3 separate regions of the Homo sapiens genome follow, and all the other regions are linked to region 1. Evidence: promoter capture Hi-C in 16 types of primary human blood cells and fetal thymus (Javierre and others, 2016). All regions are on one chromosome and are shown on one strand. The core of a region is centred on a gene start or on the middle of the fragment in contact, and the rest is flanking DNA. Distances in the headings are between cores, read along the strand shown. Region 1 holds the start of FAM131A (family with sequence similarity 131 member A). Region 2 has its middle 10 kb from the start of LINC02069. Region 3 has its middle 8.3 kb from the start of MIR4448.

Region 1 (4,829 bases), core at 927-3,426:
AAAACCCCCCTTCTCAGGCCGGGCGCAGTGGCTCACGCCTGTAATCCCAGCATTTTGGGAGGCCGAAGCAGGCGGATCACCTGAGGTCGGGAGTTGGAGACCAGCCTGGCCAACATGGTGAAACCCCGCCTCTACTAAAAATACAAAATCAGCCGGGCGTGGCAGCGCATGCCTGTAATCCCAGCTACTCTGGAGGCTGAGGCAGGATAATCGCTTGAACCCCAGAGGCAGAGGCTGCGGTGAGCCGAGATCGCACCATTGCATTCCAGCCTGGGCAACAAGAGCGAAACTCCGTCTCAAATAAATAAATACATAAAAATAAATAACAAAAAACAAAAACCCTTCTCCACCAATCCCTGTCAGCAAGCAGCCCGCCTGCCTCCAGGAAAAGGAACTCAGCTTTCCTCTGGGCCAAGAATGCCATCCTTACGTGAAAAAATGCTTGCCATCACTTAAGGCCCATCTCAAGTGTCACCTGCAAATAATGCTTTCAGCCGACAGCCTCTTCTTTTCTCTGACACACCCCGCCCCCATCATTGCCCTTGTCTGTCTCCCGAGGGAGCTCAGGATGGCAAGGCCTAAGTCTGATGCACGTAAGTTCCTAACTCCACCCTGTACCTGGCTCAGGGCTCCCTGACAAGCCCCAGCAAATGTTTCCCTCACTTAATGAAGTTGGAGGCACACATCCCTCCCCGGCATTGCCCAGCTCTCTTCTATCACGTTCCCGTCCCTCACAAGGGCAGCCAACACTGCCCCTTGACCTGAGGCCCACCCTCGATCCCTCCCCTTGGGTACCTGGCTGACAGGGCCCCCAGGGTGGCGCCAGTAGCCTCCAGCCAGGCCTAGGCGGGGGAGCACCTGCTGGGTGTTTCTTAGCTTGCTCTCCCTCCCTCGCTTCGCTCCCCTCAGCCGCCGCCATCCGTGCCCGGCGCTCCGCGCAGCTGCGGCCCAGGCCCAGAGAAAAGGTGTATGTCTCCCTGGCAACCCATCACCACGCAACAGGGTCTCCCGGGATACGGCCCGGGATGCGCTGACGTCAGCGCGGAAGGCGCGAGCTCTCCGCCTGCTGGCACAGCGCCGAGCAGAGCAGACCGGCACGGGGGCGGCCTCCCGGCCCGCCGCCGGATAGCGCCTCCGCCCGCCGGAAAAGGGAGCCAGAAGCTGGCTGGCCAGGCGTGGGTGGGGGCTGCAGATCCCCTTTATATGGATGACGTCCTCCTTCCCCCCACCACCAGGGGCCCAGCACCTCTGGCAAGTCCTGACTGTCCACCGAGGAAGGGCGGGAGGACCTGCTCCAGCCTCGGAGGGTTCGAGCAGATCCCAAAGAGGATAGAGAGAGACCCCGAGGAAGTTCGATCCACTCCACAGCCCAAGCGGGGTCCGAGGACACTGAGAGGAAGGGGAAAGGCTGTTGAGCTGTGCCCCTACTTCTGCAGAGATCCCCATTTTCATCCAGTATTGCCGTATCATTTCTCGGCCCCTCCCCCACCTTCCAGAAGACCAGCGCCCACTGAGTGCTCTCCTCAACTCTAAAAGCCCCCATCCCACACATCACTGACCCTCGGGCCCCTGGGGCCATTCTGTGGCAGCCCACTTGCCACCTTCCTGCTCTGGATAAATTTTGCCTCAAAACCCTAGGGTGAAACCAAACAATGATAAATTCTGACTCTCCTTCCCGTTTCCCAGCCTACCCATTCCTCTTGGAAAGCACACTGAGTTCTTCCGCCATCACTGTCCCCCCCACCACCGCCACCCTGGACCCTTTGCAGGAGGGTTGCCTTCCTTCTCTCTTCCTGCTGCCTTCTTTCCTCTCGCCAGCCTCAGCTGGTCCACAGCTCTTTACTCTTCTTTTCTGACGAACTCATGATATTTTTTCTGATTTTCACCCCTGTCCCCTGAAGCCGTTTCCTGATGCCCTGTCTGGCCCCAGCCTGGTTCTCCCTGTTTCAGCCTGGTTCTTAATATCTAAGCCAGAGTAATTTTCCTTTTCCACCTAAGCACCCTACTGCTCAGCTTCCCATCATCTCCCAGATCACATCCATGATCCCTGGTCTCACCTCTGCGACTTGTCTGACAAGTCCATCGTCCTCCAGGCCCTTCACGCTGCCACAGAAACATTTTGCCCAGCACAGAAATCATAGGCATGCTGGCTGTGTTGATGCAGAGAACCAAAAGCCCAGAACCGCTCCAGGCTCAGCTCCCAGTTCTATTCCTGTTTTGGCTCCGGATGCTGAGCCAGTCCCCTCCCCATTTGGAACCTGTGCCTAGTCACATAAGGAGAACATTCCTGCCTCATGGCTCTGAGGAGGTGGGAACACCAGGGCTCAGCCAAGCTCTCTGGGACTCGGGGAGCTGAGGCCCATTCCCTAGACAGTGCCAACAGGCAATGTACATCACAACTGACCTTTAGCTGGAGCAGCCGTCTCTATCCCTGAGCCTCGGCCAGCTGTTGGTCCCCAGAAATGCTACCAACCAGAAGGAAAACAGGAGGTTACAGGCCATCCCTGGCCCCCAACTGGTACCTAACCAGGGCTCTCGAGGCCAGTCCTGAGGTCAGCCAAACTCACCCCTGACAAGAGAAGGTGATGACTTCCTGAACTCCAAGCCTTGATAGGGCCAGAGAGATCAGAGCAGTCAGCTGCTCCTCAGCTTCAAAAGCCACGAGGTTAACTTAGGACTACAAATCCCAGAATTCCTCAAGGGAAGTACAAATCTCAGCCAGTCTTAGCTCCAAAGAACATCAAGTACCAACCACACCAAGGCCTGTGTGACTGACCACCTGCCCTGAAGGTCCAGGACCCATCCCAAACCCAGTCCTGCCTTGCCTTATGCGTGGAGAAATCCACCACACCGGAGTAAAGGAAGCTGGCCGACCTCTGATGCACAGGACTACGGCCAGGCCCGGTGTGCATGGCCACCCACGGAAACCGAGGCCCAGGCAGGGGTCAGCACTGTGGGAAGGAAGCCCTGATGGCCTGCCTCTGGGTTCCTCTTTCCCTCCACAGAGTAGAGTGATTTGTTTTTGCTGAGTGGGGGCAGGACATTAAAACAACTGTAATAGGTGAGAGGTGATTCAGTGTTCACAGGTGCCCCAAACGGGACCTCAGTCCCCCTTCGCCGACTGACTGAAGAGGGGAGTCAATGTCCGACAAAAATTCTGTGGTAGGGTGCTTAGCCAGGACCGAAAGGCTACCTCTTTAAGAAGATGGGGACACGGCTGGGAGAAGCAGGTTCCCAGCACAGGGCCACTCCCAGGACTGTGAAGGCAGAGGTGTAGGCGGAGGGGAGTGTGTGTGTGGGCGCGCAAGGCCAGTCGCCGAGGGCTGGAGTGGTGGGGGCATCGGGCTGCCCAGCCCCTCCCGGGGCTGTGCGTCTCCGGCCACCCTGAGCAGTGGGCACACGGCAGCCAGCGGCGAGACCATGCGTCTGCCCTGCAAAACCCCAAGGCAGGCAGGCCGTGGGAGCGAACCGGAGTCGGTCTGGCCCCTTCCCTGCTCATTCCCGCTCCCTCCTGTTGCCTGGCCCGCCTCCCGGTGCAGGCTCCTCCCTCTCCCGACACCGGCCCCCTCCTCAAGGCCCCCACCCACCCGCGGCCCGCGCACCGGCGGCCGCAGCCCGACTCCCCAACCCGTACCCGGCCTCCGCCTCTTACCCTGACCCGCCGGGCTCCGAGAGCCGATACAGCCCATGGCCGGGCACCCAGGCACGCTAGCCTGCGCTCGGGGCGCGGGCCATCGCCTTGCAGAGGGTAGGGTCGCGGCCACACTGGGGAGGGGAGAGCCCGTGAGAGGGGAGGGGTGGGAGCCGCGCGTCCGCCGCCGCTCCCCGGAGAGGGAACCGGGCCGGTGACGTAAGCGCGGGGGCGTGACCGCCGCGTCACCACCCAAAGTAGGCGGGGCGCAGCGACGTCACAGCCACGCAGAGGCGGCCTGGACCGGGTTCGAAAATGCCGGTCCTCTCCTCCCAGAGCCGACTGCCACCTGAAGGCAGGGGCGGCGAACACTCACTAAGCCAGCCCAGTCACACTACACGGGGTCGCAAAACCTCCCTTCATGCATCCAGCCCCTTCATTTTACAGATGACACCTTCAAGCCATAAAGGGATTCTCCAGCTATAAACAACCCGAAACCCAAAAGCCTTCCCCACACAGGGGCTTGAATCATTCTGGTAGGAGAGCAGAGCCTAGCAAGGATGTCCTATCACTAATCTCCCTTTTCTCCGGACCAGGAAGGCACCTATCAAGCCCATCTGAGGGCCCAACCTTCCAGGAAACCTCAGATCCCTGCAATCATGGACAGGGGAAGAGGCAGGAGGGGTGCCAGGTTACAGGGAACAGCGCTACAGTACCAGCTCTGGGAAGGATCCCCACCTATAAACACCTTCTCTAGAGGGAGCAGGGCATAAAGCAGAAAGGCAGTGAGCTTAATTGAATTCATGTTTAATAATTACAGGCACCGTGCCCCCCCTTCCCCCTGCCCAGGCAACAGCAGGGGTGGTACAGGGGCTGGGGCATATGCCCCCAGCAGCGAGGACGGCAGTCCCGAGAGTGATTTTCAGAAAATAAAAAAAAGGACCCCAGGGGCAGGCGTTGGTGCCCCTCCCCACCCCAAGACACACCAAATTTCAAGACTTTATATATAATATATCTCTGTGCCCCAGGGGGAGGAGAGGGACACCTGGCGGCATCCTGGAGGGGGGCCCAGGCAGCCCCAAGCCATCCTGCCTCTTCAGCCACTTTATTAGTTCAGACACATCACACTACAGGCACCCACTGCCACCGCCGCTGCTGCCGCCCCCCTGCAGTCCAGGCGGCTAGCCGGGCCATCTGT
Region 2 (4,829 bases), core at 1,379-3,878, 450 kb before region 1:
CTGAGCATGTTGCCCACCTCAGTCCATAATCTGTGTCCCTCCGCAAAAGCCTTCTACGCCCAGGGGCTCGGGCCCTTCTTGGGGAGATCTGCCTGAGGAAGGGAGGGCAGAAATCAAGTCATGGTTTAGGGGAGCTGGCTGCCACGGACTGGGACCATTGAAAGCTTGCCCACGAGTGGGAGGCTTTTGGCTACAAAAGCCCCATTCATCTAATACATTTTACAGACACCCTGGAGGGCTATGAGCACCTCTTACCCAGACACCCAACTCCACGGGAGAGAGAATCTCAGTCAGCCCTAAATAGCAGATTTAATTCCTTCAGATTAACCACAAATTCGGTTTGTATCCCACATGCAAATGAGCTTCCTGTAGCCTCTCTGCACAACGACCGTCATGCACAAAGACCAGAAGGGGTAACCTCAGGAAAAGTGTATTTCATCTTCCTCCTGTGCCTAATTCCTGAGCTCCTTTCTCTCTAATCATGTTTATTCTAATGTAAGAAGATGGCAAATGTCAGAATGTCATGAGATGAATCTATGATCTAATTTATTTTTTCAGGGAAAAAAAATGGGACCTGAAACACCTATTTAAGTCAGGTGTTCTGAAAATGATTAAATAAGAGGAACAAGAGGACGAACTAAGTGTAAAATACAGCTCAAGAGGCCTGGTGCCGCGGAGTCAACCTGCTTATTACGCTGTACGATGTGAATAATTTATCACGTTTTACCCTGCATTAAGTACCACTGAGGATTAATCTGCAGTTTATTTGCAAACCATATTAACCCCTGCCTGCCTCATTCTGCCGTCTCCTAGGGGAGGTTTGTGGAAAATCTCTCTGCTGCTCTTGTGCCACATAAGCAAGGACTGGACAGCAGAAACTAACCAGCCTAACTAACTAGCTCCCTTCTGGGAATGCATCTGGGAACATCAAGTCCCCATGTTGTCTGCTTCTGGGGCATTCTTCCCCTCGTAACCTTCCTGTGTTCCTACTCAGGCTGCCCCCTCCTATTGCCACGTCCCTTCCATTTCACTTCTTATGTATTTATTTATTTTTATTTTTTGAGACAGGATCTTGCTCTGTCGCCAGGCTGGAGTGTAGTGGTGCGATCTCAGCTCACTGCAACCTCCACCTCTGGGTTCCAGCAATCCTCCTGCCTCAGGCTCCTGAGTAGCTGGGATTATAGACGCCTGCCACCATGCCTGGCTAATTTTTGTATTTTTAGTAGAGACGGGGTTTCACCAAGTTGGCCAGGATGGTCTCGATCTCTTGACCTCATGATCCGCCCTCCTTGGCCTCCCAAAGTGCTGGGATTAACAGGCGTCAGCCACCGCGCCCGGCTATTTATTTTTTGAGAAGGAGTCTCACTCTGTCGCCCAGGCTGGAGTGCAGTGGCACGATCTCGGCTCACTGCAACCTCCACCTCCCAGGTTCAAGAGATTCTCCTGCCTCAGACTCCCAAGTAGCTGGGATTACAGGCGCCCACCACTATGTCCAGCTAATTTTTTGTATTTTTTTTTTTTAGTAGGGACAGGGTTTCACCATGTTTGTCAGGCTGGTCTCAAACTCCTGACCTTGTGATCTGCCCACCTCGGCCTCCCAAAGTGCTAGGATTATAGGCATGAGGCACTGTGCCCGGCCTTATTTATTCTTTTCTTTCTTTTCTTTTTCTTTTTTTTTTTTTGAGATGGAGTCTTGTTCTGTCCCCCAGGCTGGAGTGCAGTGGTGCTATCTCGGCTCACCACAACCTCCGCCTCCCAGGTTCAAGTGAGTCTCCTGCCTCAGCCTCCCGAGTAGCTGGGACTATAGGCGCACGCCATCACACCTGGCTAATTTTTGTATTTTTAGTAGAGACAGTGTTTCACCATGTTGGCCAGGCTGGTCTCAAACTCCTGACCTCAGGTGATCCATCTGCCTTGGCCTCCCAGTGTGCTGGGATTACAGGAGTGAGCCACCATACCGGGCCTGTTCTTTTATTTCTATGCCATACACGGCTAGGCTAGGTCCTTACATCTCATGCGGGACTCACAGCCAAAACCTCCTAACTGACCTTCCTGACTGGTCCTCCCCCATCCTCCAGTTTATTCTATATATGACTAATGTTCCTAAAATCCTATTTTCACCCAAACTTTCTTTGGCATGGAAGCCTCCTGCTGGGTCCTGCTCAGGGACACAGATCTGCTTCCTTCGCCCAGCACTTACGCCTCCTTTGATCCGGCACCACCATCTCTCCATCCTCACCTCCTACTCCTCCTTTCCAGACACCCTCCCTTTGAGCAGACCAACCCCGGGCCTCCCTGAACAGCCAGACTTGCTCCCATTGCCTTAGGCTTTGTCTCTGCCCTCCTCTCCGAGGGAAGTCTGCCTCTGCCCTCCCTGTGTCCAGCTCAGCTGAAAATCCCCACTGCCCGTGAACTCCTGACCACACAGGGCTTTCCCTTCCTCCAGCACCTCCTGGCCACTCTGTTCGTTGCGGAGTACCTTTGGAGCTGGGACTCTAGGGTGTCTGCCTGGGAGAAACTTAGAAACAGCAATCTGGTTGGAAGCAGGGCCAGGGACTTGTCTCAAAGCTGTGGTAGAATTCAACTGATTTATCTTATTTTTATTTTTTGAGATGGAGTCTTGCTCTGTCACCCAGGCTGGAGTGCAGTGGTGCCATCTTGGCTCACTGCAACCTCTGCTTCCTGGGTTCAAGCGATTCTCGTGCCTCAGCCTCTAGAGTAGCTGGAATTACAGGCGCCTGCCACCATGCACAGCTAACTTTTGTATTTTTAGTAGAGACGGGGTTTCACTGTCTTGGCCAGGCTGGTGTCGAACTCCTGAACTCAGGTGATCCACCTGCCTTGGCCTCTCAAAGTGCTGGGATTACAGGCGTGAGCCACCACACTCGGCCTTCATCTGATGCTTTACAGTAATTTTTCTAAAGGGGCTTGTACTCACATTTTCCATAAGAGTAAGAAGACATCCCCCGCCCATGTCAAAAACATGATTTTTAGTTGTTTTTTTGAGGGGGGGAGGCGGGGGTGATTCATGAAGATGAGGGGCATAAAACATACCTCTCCAAGCCACTCCTTGGCACTGCCACTGCCCTTGCACTATTCAAGGAAGTGGAACAGACATGCTGAAACAAGTCCTTTGCATATAAAAGCATGATATACAAAGTGCAACTCCCAGGTGTCAGAATTATTTGCAGAGAGGCCAGGCGCGGTGGCTCACACCTGTAATCCCAACACTTTGGGAGGCCAAGGCGAGTGGATCGCTTGAGGTCAGGAGTTCGAGACCAGCCTGGCCAACATGGTGAAACCCTGTCTCTACTAAAAATATAAAAATTAGCTGGGCCTGGTGGCTTGCATCTGTACTCCCAGCTACTTGGGATGCTGAGGCAGGAGAAATGCTTGAACCCAGGAGACAGAGGTTGCCGTGAACTGAGATCATGCCACTGCACTCCAGCCTGGGTGACAGAGCAAGACTCCATCTCAAAAAAAAAAAAAAAGAATTATTTGCAGAGTTATAAGAGTCCAAGTTTTTGACTCATTTATTTGCCTCACATTCTGCCATGTTATTTGATATTCCAGACATCTTAGGAGGTCTCCGCCTGTGCTTTCCCAGTGCAGCAACCCTCTGGGATTAGCGGGCAAGCTCATTAGGAATGTGCAGCCCTCTGCCCCTCCCACTTCTCCAACTGATCCTGTACCAGGTCCTCTAGGGCCTCCTCCGCTGCATTCTCCTCCTCACCTTGAGGTAGAGGTCGCCTGACTTTACAGGGCCACCCTCCCTTCTACTTCCTTTATTCCCACTTGAGACAATCTCAGACCTTATCTTATCCTCTAGATCCTCAAAATCATTTTTCCTTTGTCCATTTTCCAGTTGTGTCTCTTGCCTTAAATCTCTAACAACAAGGTAGCAATGAATGAAGGAATGAATGCCGCCTCTTGCGTCTCCTCACCTGCATCATAATATCAGCGTTGCCCACGTAGTGACCTTTCATGCACGTTGTCTCATATCAGCCCTGAGGTTCAGAGGGGTGAGGTGACCTGCCCCAGGTTAAGCAGCTGTAAATGGATCACCCTTTCCCAGGGACTTTTAGGCCACTTCAGAGCACCCCATGTTTCTAATTGAGCCAGGCTCAAGGTTGATGTTGACATGCTCCCACAGTAAATGACCTTCACCAGTAGTGACCTATATATCTATCCAAAGGACAGAACAGGGACAGGTTTGTGAGCCCAAACAGGATGGGTGGCAGCTTTCAGCGATTCCTCTCTGTGGTGAGTAACTCAGCCTTTATCCCTGGAATGCATCATAGAACTGCGTTCCAGTCCTCCCCTCACACGATGGCCTCATTGACTCCCCAGCCACACAGGTTACTTCCCCCTTCACTTCCTGCCCAGACCCATTTCCAACTGCAGCCCCAGCCTGCAGGCCTAGCAGGCACCTGGGAAACAGCTGCAGGTGACCCAGGTGGCTTATGGTCAGGGCCAGCCTGGCCCAGCCTGCAAGGATCAATCCATGGAACCGAAGACAAACAATCCCAGGACCTCTCATCGGGTGGCCAGGGAGGCAGGCACAGGTGGCTGGTTGCACTGGGGCCGAGGTCTGGTCTTAGAGAGGGCCAGCTTCAGGACTGCAGGGACCAGATGACCCAGGGACACCCCAGCTCCACTCCGGAGTGGGGTTCAGTCTGCACTTGGACAGGGCCTCCTGGCCCCACTGCTTAGCAACTTAATTCAACATCTGAACAATCAGCATCATACATAGACTAAGAATTATTCAACATCAAGGAAGCAAATTGGGAGGAATCTAGAAATCTTAATGAATTTTCTGCACTGGAAGA
Region 3 (4,829 bases), core at 1,306-3,805, 440 kb after region 1:
AATTTTTGTATTTTTAGTAGAGATGGGGTTTCACCGTGTTGGCCAGGCTGGTCTCAAACTCCTGACCTCAAGCGATCCGCCCTGATTGGCCTCCCAAAGTGCTGGGATTACAGGTGTGAGCCACTGCGACCAGCCAGCATCTGCTGCTCCATTTCTGCATTCTTTATTGGTTTCTGTTTAGAATGCAGGCTTCAAACTCGCTAAGCTTTTTTTTTTTTTTTTAATTTCAAGCTTTTTCTTTGGTCAGAATCAAGAATTCTGTAGTCAGCCCTCTGGTCTCTACAGGGATAGCTGGTTTAATTTTGTGGTATTTGGTAAATGAGCCCTGGGGTATGAGGCCTTCCCCGGAATCCCAGAGCTGAGTGTTCTAGGGCTGGGGACCATAACCGACCCCATCCTGGCTCCACTTTGGCCTCCTTATGCTGTTTCCGGTCAGCCCAGGGCCCACATGGTAAGGAGCAGATGTTACCCTGCTCCCATCTGCTTGGTCTGATTCTCTTTCTAATCACTCACTTCTCCTTTGAGATAGAGTGAGGGCTGAGGTGAGGGTGAGAGGGAAGATTTGGGTTTGGGTTTGGGGGAAGGTGAGGGTTGGGGTTAGGTTGAAGGTTAGAGTTGGGCTTATGGTTCATGTTTTCCTCTCCCCAACCCTAAAGAGTGAAGCTTGCTGTCTCCTCTCTGTCTTTCCATCACTCAGTTCCTCTTTCTCTGCTTGTTTGCCATTCCATTTCTCCTCGTTCTGTCTCTTCCTCTTAACACCCACGTGTGCACACATCCCCTGCCCCAGTGTGTATTGTCCTGGGCTGTCCTTGGCCCCTTCCAGACATGCCCCCAGCTGTTGGCCTTCTCTGTAGGAGGCAATGGCTTCATGTCCCTAGACGTGGCTGGGAGTCTTCAGGACAAAGCTGGGCAGTCCTTAGCCAGGAGGGTGTCCTGCTCAGCTCCTTCACTGATGTGAGCCTGGAGGAAGGGCAGCCTGAGGGCCGGCTGCTGAGTCTCCTCAAGGCCCCTGGACTACTCCCACCAACACACTGGGTATTCTCCAAGCTCACTGTGGCTCAGTGTCAGGGCTGGGTACTGGGTACCATCTGAGGCTCCCTGAGCCACACCAGCATCTCTCTGCAGGGCACCATCATCTTACCCAACCTGGCCTCTGTGCTCTATGACCCTGAGTGCTGGGAGACCCCTCGACAGTTCAACCCTGGCCACTTCTCGGACAAGGATGGAAACTTTGTGGCCAATGAGGCCTTCCTGCCATTCTCTGCAGGTACTAGGCACAGAGCTGGATCCTGGGTGGTGGGTGGGGCTGTGGTGGGACAGACACAGGGACAGCTGCCACCTCTGACTTTTCTCTCTGTTTCCAGGGCATCGTGTCTACCCAGCAGACCAGCTGGCTCAAATGGAGCTCTTCCTGATGTTTGCCACCCTCCTCAGGACCTTTCGGTTCCAACTGCCAGAAGGGAGCCCGGGGCTCAAGCTGGAGTACATCTTTGGCGGCACTTGGCAACCCCAGCCCCAGGAGATCTGCGCAGTGCCCCGCCTGAGCAGCCCCAGCCCTGGTCCTAGGGAGGATGGCCTGTAGCCACTGGGGGTCTGGAGGCCTGTCCCCCATGAAGTCCTTCCTCAGTCTCTTTTGGTTCCTGCAAAGTTAGAAAAGAGGAGGACCAGGGGTTCATGCAGCTCAGCTGCTCATGGTTGCCCCTAACACAAGCTCTGTGGGGTGACACTGGAGAATAGACTTAGCAAGGATTCTACAGAGGTAGCTCAGTTTGGGTAGTTCAATTCTTAAATTAGGTTAGTTATGCTTTGGCAGGCGAAGATTTTATAAGATTGGTTAAGTTTGGCATTAAATCAGTCCACAAAGTTAATATTGGGGAATCAAGCCTCACAAGGCAGCAGCTAACTAGGTTCAGAGGAAAAGGCAAACTTTCGAGCAAAACTATGAATATAATAATGCATGCAAATGCGAATACTCTAGATGCCGGGGACTGGTAAACCAAAAAAAAAAAAAAAAAAAAAAAAAGTGAAGCGGGGGCAGCTTATTTTCTGCCTTCTCCTGCCCTCTCCTGACCAGAAGGAAGAACTGCAGTTCTCTGCAGACCTGGGGCAGAGAAAGATCTCACCATCTCAATACAGCAAAGCCAGCAGACCATATAACTGTTTCCAGCAAATTCTTCACCAAAGACCCACTTTAGTTTCCACACAAGGGTCCCTAAATTTTGAATCCTTGCATCTCCAGACAAGCCTTGTTTATTAAAAAAGAATGACTTGTGGCTGGGCATGGTGGCTCACACCTGTAATCCCAGCACTTTGGGAGACCGAGGCAGGTGGATCACTTGAGGTCAGAAGTTCAAGACCAACCTGGCAAACATGGTGAAACCCCATCTCTACTAAAAATACAAAAATTACCCGGGCATGGTGGCAGGCACCTGTAATCCCAGCTACTCGGGAGGCTGAGGCAGGAGAATCGCTTGAACCCAGAAGGCAGAGGTTGCAGTGAGCCAAGATCGCACCACTGCTCTCCAGCCTGGGATCCAAGAGTGAAACTGTCTCAAAAACAAACAAACAAACAAACAAACAAACAAAAGCAAAAACAAAGAATGACTTGTGAGTTCCTGGAGGCAGAGGTTGCAGTGGGCGGAGATTATACCACTACAGTCCAACCTGGGTGACAGAGCGAGACTCTGTCTCAGAAAAAAAAAGACTGACTTGCATCAAGGAAATGCAAACTAAAATCAAATGAAATACCATTACATACCGATTAGAACTGCTAAAAAGAAAACCCTGACAATCCCAAGTACTGGAAAAGATGCGAAGCAAATGGAATTCTCATACCCTGCAGGTGGAAATGTAAAAAGGTACGACTACATTGGAAAACAGTTTGGCAATTTCTTGTAAAATTAAACATTACACCACACAACCCAGCAGTCCCAATCTTAGGTATTACCCAAAAGAAATGAAAATATATGTTCACACAAATGCATATCTATGAATTATATGATTCCATTTCTGTGATATTCTTAAAAAGGCAAACCTATAGGGACAGAAAATATTCCATAGATAAGTGGCTGCCAGGATTCGGGAGCAGGGTTATAGGTTGACTGTAAAAAGACATGAGGAAACTTTCTGGGGTAATAGAAATGTTCTGTATCTTGATTGTGGTGATGGTTACACAACTGTATGTGTTTGTCAAAACTCATACAACTGTACACTTAAATGAGTGTTATTGTATATAAGCCATGCCTCAATAAATCTGAGCTTTAAAAAGGAAATGCCTCGGGCCGGACACGTTGGCTCACGCCAGTAATCCTAGCATTTTGAGAGGCCAAGGCGGGCAGATCACCGGAGGTCAGGAGTTCAAGACCAGTCTGGCAAACATGGTGAAGCCCTGTCTACTAAAAATACAAAAAAGTTAACTGGGTATGGTGGCACGTGCCTGTAATCCCAGTTATTCTGAAGGCTGAGGCAGGAGGATCGCTTGAACCTGGGAGGCGGAGGTTGTAGTAAGCAGAGATTGCACCACTGCACTACAGCCTGGGAGACAGAATGAGACTCCATCTCAAAAAAAAAAAGGAAATGCCTTACCTCTCTCTTTTGTGTTATTTAAAGGACGTACATATGAATGAACCAATGTTTCTAATTAGTAGGAGATCAATCATTACTGCTACACCAGGCTGAAAGGAGTCTAACCAGAAATAAAACATGACGTATTGGCCAGGCTTAATGGCTTGCGCCTGTAATCCCAGCACTTTGGAAGGCTGAGGTGGGTGGATCACTTGAGGCCAGGAGTTCAAGATCAGCCTGGGCAACATGGTTAAACCCCCATCTCTACTAAAAATACAAAAATTAGCCGGGCGTGGTGGTGCACACCATAGTCTCAGCTACTTGGGTGACTGAGGCAGGAGAATCGCTTGAACCCAGGAGGCGAAGATTGCAGTGAGCAGAGATCGCGCCACTGCACTTCAGCCTGGCTGACAGAGTAAGACCCTGTCTCATAACAAAACCTAACAAAAAACAAAAACCATGATGTGTGAATTAGCCTCTGGCCTTTCTTCAGGCTTTGTGAAATCCTGGAGCTTTCTCATAGATATCTTATTTTCTGTGCGGTGCCATATCCAGGGCCTCGGGAGTCCAGACTGGGAAGCACTAGGCAAGTGGGGTCCCAGAGAGCAGGAGACAGCCTGGGGTTCTCGGCCCTGGGAGGTCCCACCCTGAGCTGGCAGCTCTCTGTGATCCAGGCAGGATCTGGGGCAGAGAAAACAAAGCCAGGCTCTAATTCACCTGCTTCCTACCTCACTTTCCTAACCCTTTCTCTGTTAGAGCCCCTGTCTGGAGCTTGCAGCCCCTTCTAACACTCATCCTCTCCACCATCCAGCCTCCTGTCTTTGATCCTGTCCAGCCCTCTGCGTGTTATTCCATTGAAAGGCCAACTCCTCCAGGAAGCTTTCCCTCACCTGGACTTTGGCCTTGGTTGAAATCCCAGTTTTGCTCTCAATAACCCAGTCCTTGTGTGCTTCGGTCTCCTCATATGACAAATGGAGGCTTCCTTTAGGATTGTCGGGAGTGACAATGCCCAGCACAGGGCCTGGCGGGTGATGAATGCTCTGTTTATGTTGGCAGGGCTCTCCTTCCCCTAGACAGCATCCAAAAGTACTCGCACCTTTGTTTTTAGCTCTAAAATGATGACGCTGCAGGGAGCCCTTCCCCTGTGGATAGGCTTCCCTTTCAGCTTCCATATCCTCATGACGATATGACAATAGCTGCCATGTGTTGATTGCCAACCGTGTGCTAGGAAGTGCACTGGGCACCTAACATAGACGAAGCCATTT

The links. The method cuts DNA at HindIII sites, captures the fragments that hold promoters and counts their contacts. A CHiCAGO score of 5 or more calls a contact.
Region 2: a fragment that was not itself captured here is called in contact with the fragment with the promoter of FAM131A in region 1 in 7 of 17 cell types (naive B cells, M1 macrophages, M2 macrophages and 4 more); the score reaches 6.7 in naive B cells.
Region 3: a fragment that was not itself captured here is called in contact with the fragment with the promoter of FAM131A in region 1 in 2 of 17 cell types (M0 macrophages and M1 macrophages); the score reaches 6.4 in M0 macrophages.

What each region holds. Positions count from the first base shown.
Region 1 is chr3:184,334,947-184,339,775 of GRCh38, reverse strand. FAM131A (family with sequence similarity 131 member A) reads right to left here and starts at 2,176. Exons shown (of 6, transcript NM_144635.5): 1 at 2,058-2,176; 2 at 1,247-1,389. The coding sequence starts at 2,145. It overlaps EIF4G1 (eukaryotic translation initiation factor 4 gamma 1), which reads right to left. Exons shown (of 33, transcript NM_198241.3): 33 at 4,423-4,829. RefSeq lists an enhancer at 1,023-1,634 and silencers at 3,433-3,502, 3,426-3,626, 3,543-3,972. The HindIII fragment of the contact is 18,780 bases long and covers 1-4,829 here.
Region 2 is chr3:184,780,803-184,785,631 of GRCh38, reverse strand. No RefSeq gene overlaps it. Among named protein-coding and RNA genes, the nearest start is that of LINC02069, 10 kb to the right of the region's middle. RefSeq lists an enhancer at 4,023-4,523. The HindIII fragment of the contact is 4,924 bases long and covers 167-4,829 here.
Region 3 is chr3:183,892,653-183,897,481 of GRCh38, reverse strand. It overlaps the pseudogene CYP2AB1P. Among named protein-coding and RNA genes, the nearest start is that of MIR4448, 8.3 kb to the right of the region's middle. The HindIII fragment of the contact is 3,780 bases long and covers 666-4,445 here.